3 separate regions of the Homo sapiens genome follow, and regions 1 and 3 are each linked to region 2. The links are contacts of gene promoters, found by promoter capture Hi-C in blood cells and fetal thymus (Javierre and others, 2016). All regions are on one chromosome and are shown on one strand. The core of a region is centred on a gene start or on the middle of the fragment in contact, and the rest is flanking DNA. Distances in the headings are between cores, read along the strand shown.

What was found. Contacts are between HindIII fragments. The CHiCAGO score rates a contact against its expected background, and 5 or more counts as called.
Region 1: a fragment that was not itself captured here is called in contact with the fragment with the promoter of WDFY3-AS2 in region 2 in 12 of 17 cell types (total B cells, total CD4 T cells, megakaryocytes and 9 more); the score reaches 19.9 in total B cells.
Region 3: a fragment that was not itself captured here is called in contact with the fragment with the promoter of WDFY3-AS2 in region 2 in 1 of 17 cell types (naive B cells); the score reaches 6.9 in naive B cells.

What each region holds. Positions count from the first base shown.
Region 1 is chr4:83,641,656-83,645,363 of GRCh38, forward strand. No RefSeq gene overlaps it. Among named protein-coding and RNA genes, the nearest start is that of GPAT3, 110 kb to the left of the region's middle. The HindIII fragment of the contact is 2,178 bases long and covers 1,066-3,243 here.
Region 2 is chr4:84,964,006-84,967,635 of GRCh38, forward strand. WDFY3-AS2 (WDFY3 antisense RNA 2) reads left to right here and starts at 1,611. Exons shown (of 4, transcript NR_152775.1): 1 at 1,611-1,853. It overlaps WDFY3 (WD repeat and FYVE domain containing 3), which reads right to left and starts at 2,685. Exons shown (of 68, transcript NM_014991.6): 1 at 2,204-2,685. The HindIII fragment of the contact is 8,814 bases long and covers 1-3,630 here.
Region 3 is chr4:86,055,089-86,058,515 of GRCh38, forward strand. The region is part of intron 11 of MAPK10 (mitogen-activated protein kinase 10); the gene reads right to left. Among named protein-coding and RNA genes, the nearest start is that of MAPK10-AS1, 63 kb to the right of the region's middle. The HindIII fragment of the contact is 2,245 bases long and covers 399-2,643 here.

The DNA.
Region 1 (3,708 bases), core at 905-3,404, 1.3 Mb before region 2:
GTGTCACCAAGGTGGGCCGGGCACAGCGGTTCACACCTGTAATCCCAGCACTTTGGGAGGCTGAGGCGAGCAGATCACCTGAGGTCGGGAGTTTGAGACCAGCCTGACCAACATGGAGAAACCTCGTCTCTACTGAAAATACAAAATTAGCTGGGCATGGTGGTGGTGCGCCTGTAATCTCAGCTACTCGGGAGGCTGAGGCAGGAGAATCGCTTGAACCTGGGAGGCGGAGGTTGTGGTAAGTCGAGATTGCGCCATTGCACTTTAGCCTGGGCAATAAGAGCGAAACTCTGTCTCAAAAAAAAAAAGAAAAGTCACCAATGTTTACTCCTGGCTTCACTCTTATTAGCTCTGTGACCTTCAGCAAGAGTCTTAGCTTTCTTAGTTTTCTCATTTAAGTAGTGGTACTCAACTTGTACTAGTACTCAACTTGTAAGGTCATTGTGAGTGTTAAATAAATATGTCACCGTATTAGCATATAGTAAGGGCTATATACATGTTGAAAGAATAATTAGAAAAAAGTGAAGCCTTTCTTAAGTGCCTTTTAAAAGTAGGCACTACATGGCTAAAATCCATTTATTAATGCTATAGAGACTTGATTATTGTTCATATAATTGATTATTGTTTGTTCATATAATTGATTACTGCTGTCTTAATTGGGGACCAGTGTCACTCAGAAAGAGTGTTGACAGTATGGAAATTACAAAAGATGTTGTTTTTATTTACTATGTTGAATGGTGGTATGAGGGAATCACTGGACTAGCAAAACTCTCTTAAAGTTTTGACATGGGATGGAGTGTGTGGTGGTGGGGACCCTTTTTCCCACTGTTGAGGTTTTATTCTTGTGGAGGGAGCTCCACTAGTCTAGGATTTCTGGATGATGTGTGTTCCTCTTAGGCTCAGACATAGTGTCTTCTCTAGGTCCCTTCCTTGGTGTTTTTATGCCCCTTCCTTGCTCCTTTCTGGAAGATACGTCACTTATCTGACTGGTGAATGTGGAAGGAATAACTGACCAAATGGCTCAGCCTCTTCCCTTTTTCTCTTGGGAGGAGCCTGTCTTCTGGAAGCTTGCATTCCACTCTGATCATCCTTGTCATAAATGCACCAGGCAGGCCCTGTTTTTCAGAGGCTTGCCCAGTCCAGTGGTGCTTGGGATTCAAAAGATAAGCAGTGGCTGGGTGCGGTGGCCCACGCCTGTAATCTAAGCACTTTGGGAAGCTGAGGGAGATGGATTGCTTGAGCTCAGGATTTTGAGACCAGCCTCGGCAACATGGTGAAACTCCATCTCTACGAAAAATACAAAAATTAGCCAGTCTTATAACCAGGTCTCAAAAAAATAAATAAAAATTTAAAAAGACCAGCAGTTTAATTCTTGAGTGCAATGTGATCTACTTGCCTAGAGACGTAGCCTCATTTTTCAATATTAACAATGTGATATCTATTCTCCTAGCTGCCTTATTCTTTGGTCGGATTTCTTAATTGCCTCACAACATTTGTGAGAAAGATGAATGTCATTTACCAAGCCTGTTGAAATCCCAGCAGTCCTGTTAACAATGAATTGTGCACATTCTACTGGGGACTTCCTTCCTTTCCTTTCCTTCCTTTCCTTCCTTTCCTTCCCTTTCCTTCCTTCCTTCCTTCCTTCCTTCCTTCCTTCCTTCCTTCCTTCCTTCTCTCTCTTTTCTTTTCTTTTCTTTTCTTTTCTTCTTCCTTTCTGTCCTGAATCTCGCACTGTCACCTGGGCTGGAGTGCAGTGGCGCAATCTCAGCTCACTGCAACCTCTGCCTCCTGGTTCACGTGATTCTCCTGTCTCATCCTCTTGAGTAGCTGGGATTACAGGCACACACCACCACACCCTGCTAATTTTTGTATTTTTAGTAGAGACAGGGTTCACTGTGTTGGCCAGACTGGTCTCAAACTCCTGACCTCATGATCCGCCCGCCTCGGCCTCCCAAAGTGCTGGGATTACAGGTGTGAGCCACTGTGCCTGGCCAGGGACTTTCTAAGAGCCTGAGTGGAATACACTTCAGAATTATCTATTGAAGGGCAAGGGAGCTAGGGTGTCTATCCACCAACTCCTGTCCCTCACTGGCTGAGGGTTGCTTAATTCCCTGGTACTTTTAGCTTGCCCATTTTGTCGCTAGCAGAAGTCCTCGGCCAGAGAAATGCAGGTGTTTGATGCGGGAAACCAAGAATAAGATGAGAACAATCTACTGAAGCGCCAAGTAACTTTCAGTGTGTCCTGGGGAATGGTTGGGGCACTCACAGTGCCAGCGATAAGGTTCTCTGAATTCCCGTTGGCTATGCTAGTACCCTTGCTCTGTGATTCCACAGATGTTTCCTTAGTCAAATCCAGCATTGGATGGGTTTATTCTGTCACCTCAGCTGTAAGCTCTATGTGGGCAGGGACCAGATGCATGCTATTCACTGTGGTATTCTCAAGCCTAGATGATCAGTAAATATTTGTTAAATGTAGCCGGGTGCAGAGGCTCACGCCTCTAACCCCAGCAATTTGGGAGGCAGAGGCAGGCAAATCACTTGAGGTCAGGAGTTCAAGATCAGCCTGGCCAACATGGTGAAACCCTGTCTCCACAAAAAATACAAAATATATATATATATATTTTAGTCGGGCGTGGTGGCACGTGTCTGTAATCCCATCTACTTGGGAGGCTGAGGCAAGATAATCGCTTGAAGCCAGGAGGCAGAGGTTGCAGTGAGCTGAGATCACACCACTGCACTCCAGCCTGGGCAACAGAGTGAGACTCCATCTCAAAAAAAAAAAAAAATTACTTGTTGAATGAATGCTGTGGTCGGGAATGAATAAATGGTCACAGTGAAAAAATCATATGCAATTATTTTTAAAGCTAGTTTTGGTGTTTTGTAAGAAAGTACATTTGCTATACAAAGAATTGTACTGCTGAAACACAGAGACATGAAGTGCATGGTTTGGACCCACCTGATGTTAAGTTTGAAATAAACTTGCCTTTTACAACTTTATGGTCCTAGAAAAAGGGAGATCACATATTTTCCTTTCTTAGCAAAAATTGTTATCAAGGAATAGTTTCCATGAAGGTAAAACAGAGTAAGAGATTTGTTCTATTTGAAGTATTTTAAATAGGTTCTGTTTGTGAAGTTACTTGTCAAAGTTTCTCAACAGGAGAGAGATGGATTTCAGTGCTGAGGATATGATGATGTAATGTGACAACATTGCCAGTAGGGGGTGCTGTTTCACGTAGCATTAGAAGCTTTATGGCTTTGGATTCTGTAAATAGAGTTCACAACATTATTCTCGAAATGAATTAGATTAGTTTCCGAACGGTTGATAGGATTTTTAACGTCAGACAGGCAATAAAAGAGAAAGCACCAAAATCAGTCACCCCACTCCATAAGCAAAAAAGTCTGAGGGAGATAAAATCTGTAATTCATACAACTGCAGCCAATATGGGGAAGAAATAATAAAAAAGAAAAAAATGGCTAATTCCAAGTTGATTATATGCTCCAGTGTGGCCTGGATAATTCCAGTTTTGAAATACTATTCTGGATGGGCACATATGCTGAGAAAAATTCAGATATAATGGATAGTGGATAGTTTTTGTTATAGAGTCAAGAGTTGCTTGAATAGATAGCTTTAAGATGAACTGGGAAGTGCTGGGCTTAACTTTGTGAATTACCACATATGAAATACAATTATGCTCACAAATTACTATA
Region 2 (3,630 bases), core at 361-2,860:
TATGTATTCTTTAATTTTATATCTAGAAGTTCATAATCTTTTACAGACCCATATCCTTTTGAGAATGTGATCACCCAACAGAGTCTTTATCTAGGAAAAAAGCAAATATATGCTATATTCTGCATATGATTTCTGGGAAGCCAAGGACCCTCAGAAGTATATGCATGAAATTAAGAAAGAAGCAGGGCATGGTGGCTCACATCTGTAATCCCAGCACTTAGAGAGGCTAAGGCAGGAGGATCACTTGAGGCCAGGAGTTCAAGATCAGCCTGAGCAACACAGGGAGACCCTCATCTCTACAAAAAATAGAAAAATTAGACAGGCATGGTGGCATGCACATGTAGTCCTAACTTCTTGGGAGGCTGTGGGAGAAGGATCACTCGGGCCCAGAAGTTCAAGGCTGCAGTGAACCGTGATCGTGCCACTACACCCCAGCCTGGGCAACAGGGCAAGACCCTGTCTCTAAAAAAAGAAATAAATAAATAAATTAAGAACAACTGATGTAAACTTTTAAAATTGCAAAGTTGAGCAGTGGAATTTAAGAATCTCTTCAAAGCAGAGAATCCAACTAATATTGAAATATACTGTCATTTACTTTTTCAAAAACAGATTATGCAAGAGTAGAACATTGTATTTTCTAACTTATCCCTCCTTTTTGGAGGTGATACAAATTTTTTGAAACATTTTTTTTTTTCTTTACAAAAATTGTTTTCTCTTTGTTGCCCAGGCTGGTCTCTAACTCCTGGCCTCAAGTGATCCCCCAGCCTTGGCCTCCCAAAGTGCTGGAATGACAGGCATGACCCACTGTGACCCACCAAAAGCATACATATATTTCAGATGAATCCATTTTAACTCATGGAAAGAAACTAGCAGTAGAAACCTCTTTCTAGCAGCTTGAGATAGAATGGTTCAAAGTATTAACATACTTTACTATTGCTCAAATATCATAGGAAGAGTTCTCAATTCTAATGCAATATATATTTTTAAACATAAAAACATACCAACCTAATTCCTATACTTAAGAGTCTCATGATAAAGTTTTATTTTTTTTAAAGTCGGATTTTTTTACTAGACTTATGCACTAATACAACATGTTTTTCTATAAATTAGCACATTTTTAGTTCTGTTTTATGTTATGTTTGTTACGTCGCCTGATAGTCGAAACCAGTTGTTCTCAACCTGCTACCAAATACCAACCTGGAAATATGCCACTATTTAAAAAGCCCGAAGAATAGGGTTTTGTTTTTCCTTTTTAATTGTTTGGTGTTCAAACTACATAGTAAACCAGTTGGCAACCATTACTGAACAAAAATAGTTTTTCGTATGCATGAGCACCATTTTCCAACAGAAAACACTTAACCATTTTTAAGGTACTGGAAGTCCATGCAAGGGTTCACATATGCAGTAAATATCCTTTCAATCTGGTTGTATCACATTGTTTCTGTGAAAGGAAGACCTGATATTGCAGATCTCACAATTAAATGGTAAAAATCAATGAAAAACTGCACCTGAGGCTCAAACACTAGCCAGATGGCCTTTGGTTGGAAAGGTCTCATCTGCTTCTTAAATCCCGCCGTAACTGTGAATGTTTGCGATGCCACCACATCCCCAGTACAAGAGAACTGGAGCATCTCTGGCTCCTTCCATAATCGAAGGGCTTCCAGCGTAGGGCGTAGGGGGAGAGGCCCGAAGCCCTGGAGACAGCGCCCGAGGGATGGAGGCCGCGCTCGGCTGCGCTCAGGTCCGGGTGGCTCCGGGAGCTGAGACCCCGCAGGATGCAGCGGGGGGGGGCCAGGGCCTGATCCCCTACCCCTGCGAGCCAGGGCCGCCTACGCCCCCACTGCTTCCCACAGGTAACGTCCAGCCCTCTCCTCCCCTATCCCCCGAAATATCCCGGTTCCGCTCCGCTCCGCTCGCCGCCCGTGACCCCGACCCCGACCCGTCCGCGACGGCGCCCTCCCCAGGAGGCAGCGGAGGACTAGGGCCAGGCCGCCCACCCTGGCGGCGGCGGCGGCTCCCGGCCAAGGCGGACCCTGGGGAGGACAGCAGCTGGGCCGCGGCCTGTCCCTAGGGGGAGCGGGCGCAGGGCCGCGAGTGGGCAGCGCCTCCGCCCCGCACGAACAAAGCGGCCAGGCGCGCCGGGCCGAGGCAGCACCGCCTCTCCGGGAGCGCGGGGGGCGGGGAGGATGGCGGGGGTACTCACCTGAGGGCCGGCGGAGGGCGCGGGCGGGACAGGCCCAGGAGACGGGACCGCGGCGGGCCGGGGCTCCGCGCCGAGGGCGCACGGGCTACGGGGAAGGGGCGACCGGCGCGACGTCCGCGGCGGGGCCCGGGAGCCCCGCGCCGCGGGCCGGGGGCCGGGGCCCGAGCTCGATTCTGCGGCCGCGAGGTATGGGAACCGGTCCGCCGGGCCAGGCAGCGGTGCTAGGCAGCAGGGGCAGCGACGCCGCCGCCTTTCCCTTCTCCTGCCCCCGTCCCTGCTCCGCCGCGTCCTCGTCCTCGCTGGGTCCCCGCCGCCGCCGCCTCAGCCTCGGCGCTCCTCGGGTTTCTTCTCTCCATCAAGGCCGGGCCGACCCGCAGGGACCATCCCGGAAAGTGAGGGGTTGTTGCCGTTTCCCGCAGCTGTTGGTGGCCATCTTTAATCCTCCTCCTCCTCCTGCTTTCTCCACCTCCCGCTGGCTGTCTGACTGACTGACTGGATCCTCCTCTTTCCCCTCCTGCTCCTCCTACTGAGCCGGCCGCAGAAATTGCAGCCGCTCAGCTTCTACCCCCTCCTGCCTTTCCTTCCTCTTTCCTTACTTCCTTCCCTTCCCTCGGCTTCCCGCTCTTGCCTCACTCTCAGCGGCTGCCTTCGCCCCTGTCTGCAGACAGCGCCGCTGGATGCTCCCAGCTGGACTTCAACCCCACTCCTCTCAGTCCCTCTCCCCACTGCCTTCCAGACGCGCCTCTTCCCCGCCCCGCGCCCCTCTCTCCTCTCCCACCCCTGCCCCTCTCCGCGGCGCTCACCCTCCTCAGTCCCAGTTTCTGAAAGGACTCAGCTGAGAAAGGACAACTGGGTTCCGCTTTCCTTAACCCTACACCCTTTAGCTGGATGCTGTCAGAGGCGATGGAGAAACGCAAAGGTGCGTTAATTTTACTCTAGCCAGAGTATAAAAGAACTGCCCACGCCAGCTATTGTACTACGCAGCTTCGAAACTCCTGCACGCTCTCCTGTGTGGCTCCCGTCCGTGATGGGACTGTAGTTGAGGAGCTCGGTCTCAAATGGTGCCTTCCGTCAGTGACCTTGAGTCGGTTGCCTAAGATTTTAGATTTTCCTTTTCCTTCCTGGGAGGGGCATTATTTATACCTTTGCAGTCCCACAAACAGTGTTTAGACCAAATAAGTATCCTTTAGTAAACCTAGAACTGCCAAGTGATCATCATTTTGCCCGTTTGTTCCTACTCAACCCAGCAGACAATTTGGGTCACGCTTCAGTTCTGGCAGTAAAGACAAACTGAGTCAGCAGTTAGGAGTGGACTCCCTTAAACAACAGAGTTAGAGTGGGGAAGTGGTCATAACATCGCTGTAATCACAAACTTGTTTTTCCTAACACTGCAATCTACAGAAGTTTCAGGATTTCCTCTAATAAAC
Region 3 (3,427 bases), core at 271-2,770, 1.1 Mb after region 2:
AAACAAAAGGTCACCAGTGACCTGCACACAGATTATAGACCAAACTGGTGATGGGCACTTGGGAAATACTTGGACTAATTGTCAAGTTTAAAATATACAAGAAATACTAAAACATATTATGGAAATAAAATCACTAACATGCTAAACATTACAGATACTTGAAATTATTCACATTGTTAATTATTCTTTTCCTCATTCTAGGATACAGTAGTTTGTCTTACTTGTGAAAATATTTAGGGGAACTTAGATAAAATTTTTGTTTGATATTCCTAAAATGCTAGAAATGACCTCAGAAATCTTTTTGAGAATAAGCCCTTTATAAAAACCTCCAAATAGGTCTTTCCTGAGAAAACTCAATTGATGTGCTTTATCAAGTATAATAGTATGTTTCATTTATAAGCTTTCCAAGTTGAAATCCAAAGTAATAAGCATGTTTCAAAAAAAATCTAAACAAGTAAAAATGGGGAAACTTACTAAAACTGTGCACACATATATAGCATCAAGAAATAAACTAGCAGTAAAATCCAAGGTCATATTCAGTGTGATAGGCACTGCAGATCTTTTCTATTAATAAAAAGCAACAGAGGCTTTTTCTACCCATGAAATGTTTTTTTAAAAGAGCTTTCTTATTATTTTAGTGAAATGAAGTTTTTCCTTCTTAATAAAAATTTTCAAATTTCTACCAAAAAAAATCCTTAAGTAACTCAAGTTTTGCAGTTTATGCTTATTTAAATATTTGATAGGTATTTTCTGCCACTTGAGAGTTGCTATTAAATTTTATATAATAAACTTCACTTGCAAACTGACTTCCTTCTCAGACAAATCAAATGACAGCAAACAAAAATAATGCCTATTAACTATTTTAAGTACATTACTGTACCCTGTGGGGAAAATCAGGAAACAAAAACTGTAGTTTCAGAATTTCAGATGGATTAGTTATTCAGAAATTGTCTTGAGGACATGCCCTAACCTTTTGATATCACTCATCAAAGGAAAATGTGACTCACAAAGACTTTAATCCCCTTTCCTCCCAACGGGAGATACAGTCTGTATAGAGAGCTGTTTGCATTTATAACTCACTTAAATCATGTCTTCCAGATACTTCAGGTTTAACTCACAGTGCTACACTCAAACTAACCAATTTAATAAAAGGATTATAAAATATTTGAAGCAAACTTATGCATATTTTATTCAATGGTTTATCTCCAAACAGTAGATATCTACTGATGAACTATTTGAACATTAGATGCATCAAATTCATATTCATTGTAGCTCATATTTTTCCTTATCATTCCTAAATTCATATATACTGAGTCTAACAAAGTACATTGCTTCTAGTTATAATCAAATATATTTATAAGTCTATTCTTCACCATGTTGTTTCAGGAATTTATTATGGATTCAAGAGAATTCAGTAAAAGACAACTGGTTAAGCCACAGTTAATAAAGGTAGAAACAATGCAAACAAGAACTCATTCATGGAGTAGATTTAATAGAGCAAGTAACACAGGATATTCATAATCAAATGATATTAGCTTTTACAGTAAAAATGTATTTGAGAGAATTAAAAGTCAGTGATAATAAGGAATGAGAATAACTCCTTCCCATCATCCTCAGTCATGTGAACTATGCTCAAAGGCTTCAGATGGTCAATAAATTAATACATGAATCTTTAAAATATAAATTAAATATTTTTATTTAGTTGCTATAGTAAATAGAAAGATTTAATTTATAGTTTAAAGATTGTATACTTTTATGTTTAGTATAGCAACTTTAGGATTCTTTGGTTTTCAGTAATAATCTATGCATTTGGGTAACCAAACTTAGTCAGCTTGGTCAGGACTTTTTTGTTTATTTATTTTATTTTATTTTATTTTATTTTATTTATTTTTTTTAAGACGGTCTCACTCTGTCTCCCAGGCTGGAGTGCAGTGGTGCGATCTCGGCTCACTGCAACTTCTGTCTCCCGGGTTCAAGCGATTCTCCTGCCTCAGCCTTCCCAGTACCTGGCACTACAGGTGGCTAATTTTTGTATTTTTAGTAGAGATGGGGTTTTGCCGTGTTGGCCAGGCCCAAACTCCTGATATCAAGTGATCCACCCGCCTTGGCATCCCAAAGTGCTGGGATTACAGGTGTGAGCCACTGTGCCCAGCAGGACATTATTTTATATTCAGTCAAATAATAGTTTAAAAATCATAGCTAAAAGTGGATAAGCATAACTTGTTAATTATGATTCAAAGCAGTTGATGCACATCTGGTTGAAGATTAGCAGATTCTCACTGCAGTTTAGTTATAACTGATTAACATTTCAAGGGACATAGGATTTCAGATTCTACAGTCAGGAAACCATACACCAAACAAGTTAAATAATCAAGTAAGGTAGATAATTCATATTTGGAGGAGTTTATTTTGTTTCTTCAGGAGATGATAAGTTATCAAAGATTCTCATTCAATAGAAATTGCTATTAACTATTAGAAACCTACCAAGAACAATAAAAGCAGGGACCTGTTTTTTTTTCATTTTTTGTTTAAAAATTCAATGCTGAATCACTATCATCTAGGTCAGTGTGGAACACAAAGTGTGGGTTCAGTCAATATTTATAGAATAAGTGAATAAATACTAAACTGTTAACAAATAGTCAAAGCTTATGTGAATAACTCTGTTGGATAAAAAAGAGAAAAGGGTAAGAAGTGAAGAAGAGATAAAAAAGGAAGAAATAAAAAAGAGGTGAGTGAGAGGAAAGTGAAAAGTTCTTTCCTAGTGAAAGAGGTCTTTCCTATGGCAGCAGAAGAGTAGATTTACAGCAACCTAAAAGAAAACAGATGGCTGAATCCTTTCACTCCCCTTACGTACATGTGGTCCAACATTGTCTCAACAAGACTGTAGCCCTACAACCAACAATCGAAAGAGTGACATCAACACATAAAAGGAAGGAAGTGCACATTCAGTGGAAACCCCAATGAGAAATACGCTTCTGCCAAGACTATCAGGTTGGTATAGTACTTGCGATGTCTTGGCAAGAAATCATGAAATACTTGAAGAAATTAAATAATTATTAGGGGGATGCTTACTTCACTTTACTAGGGGAGGTCCTTGAGTACCTCTTCTAACATCTAAAGTCTTCTCCTCTCCAGAGGAATTGTGCTCCGTTCCCTGGTTACTTCTCCTTTACTTAGGGATTTCAGAATTGTGAATAAGGAAAGAATGACCTGGTAAGTGCCAGCCCTGGACACATTTGCCCACAGATGCTGTCCTCCCCCTTTCTTTAGTTGCTCTTTTTCTCAGGGGGCTGGACTCTATTAGGCCATATTTCCCAGATTTGTCTGTCAGTTGCCTTAGGGTTGGTCTCAGCCAATAGGAGGGAGATATCACCAGGAGACAGAGGGGAGAATCTAGGCCATTTCTCCCCACCCTTTTCTCTAGAAG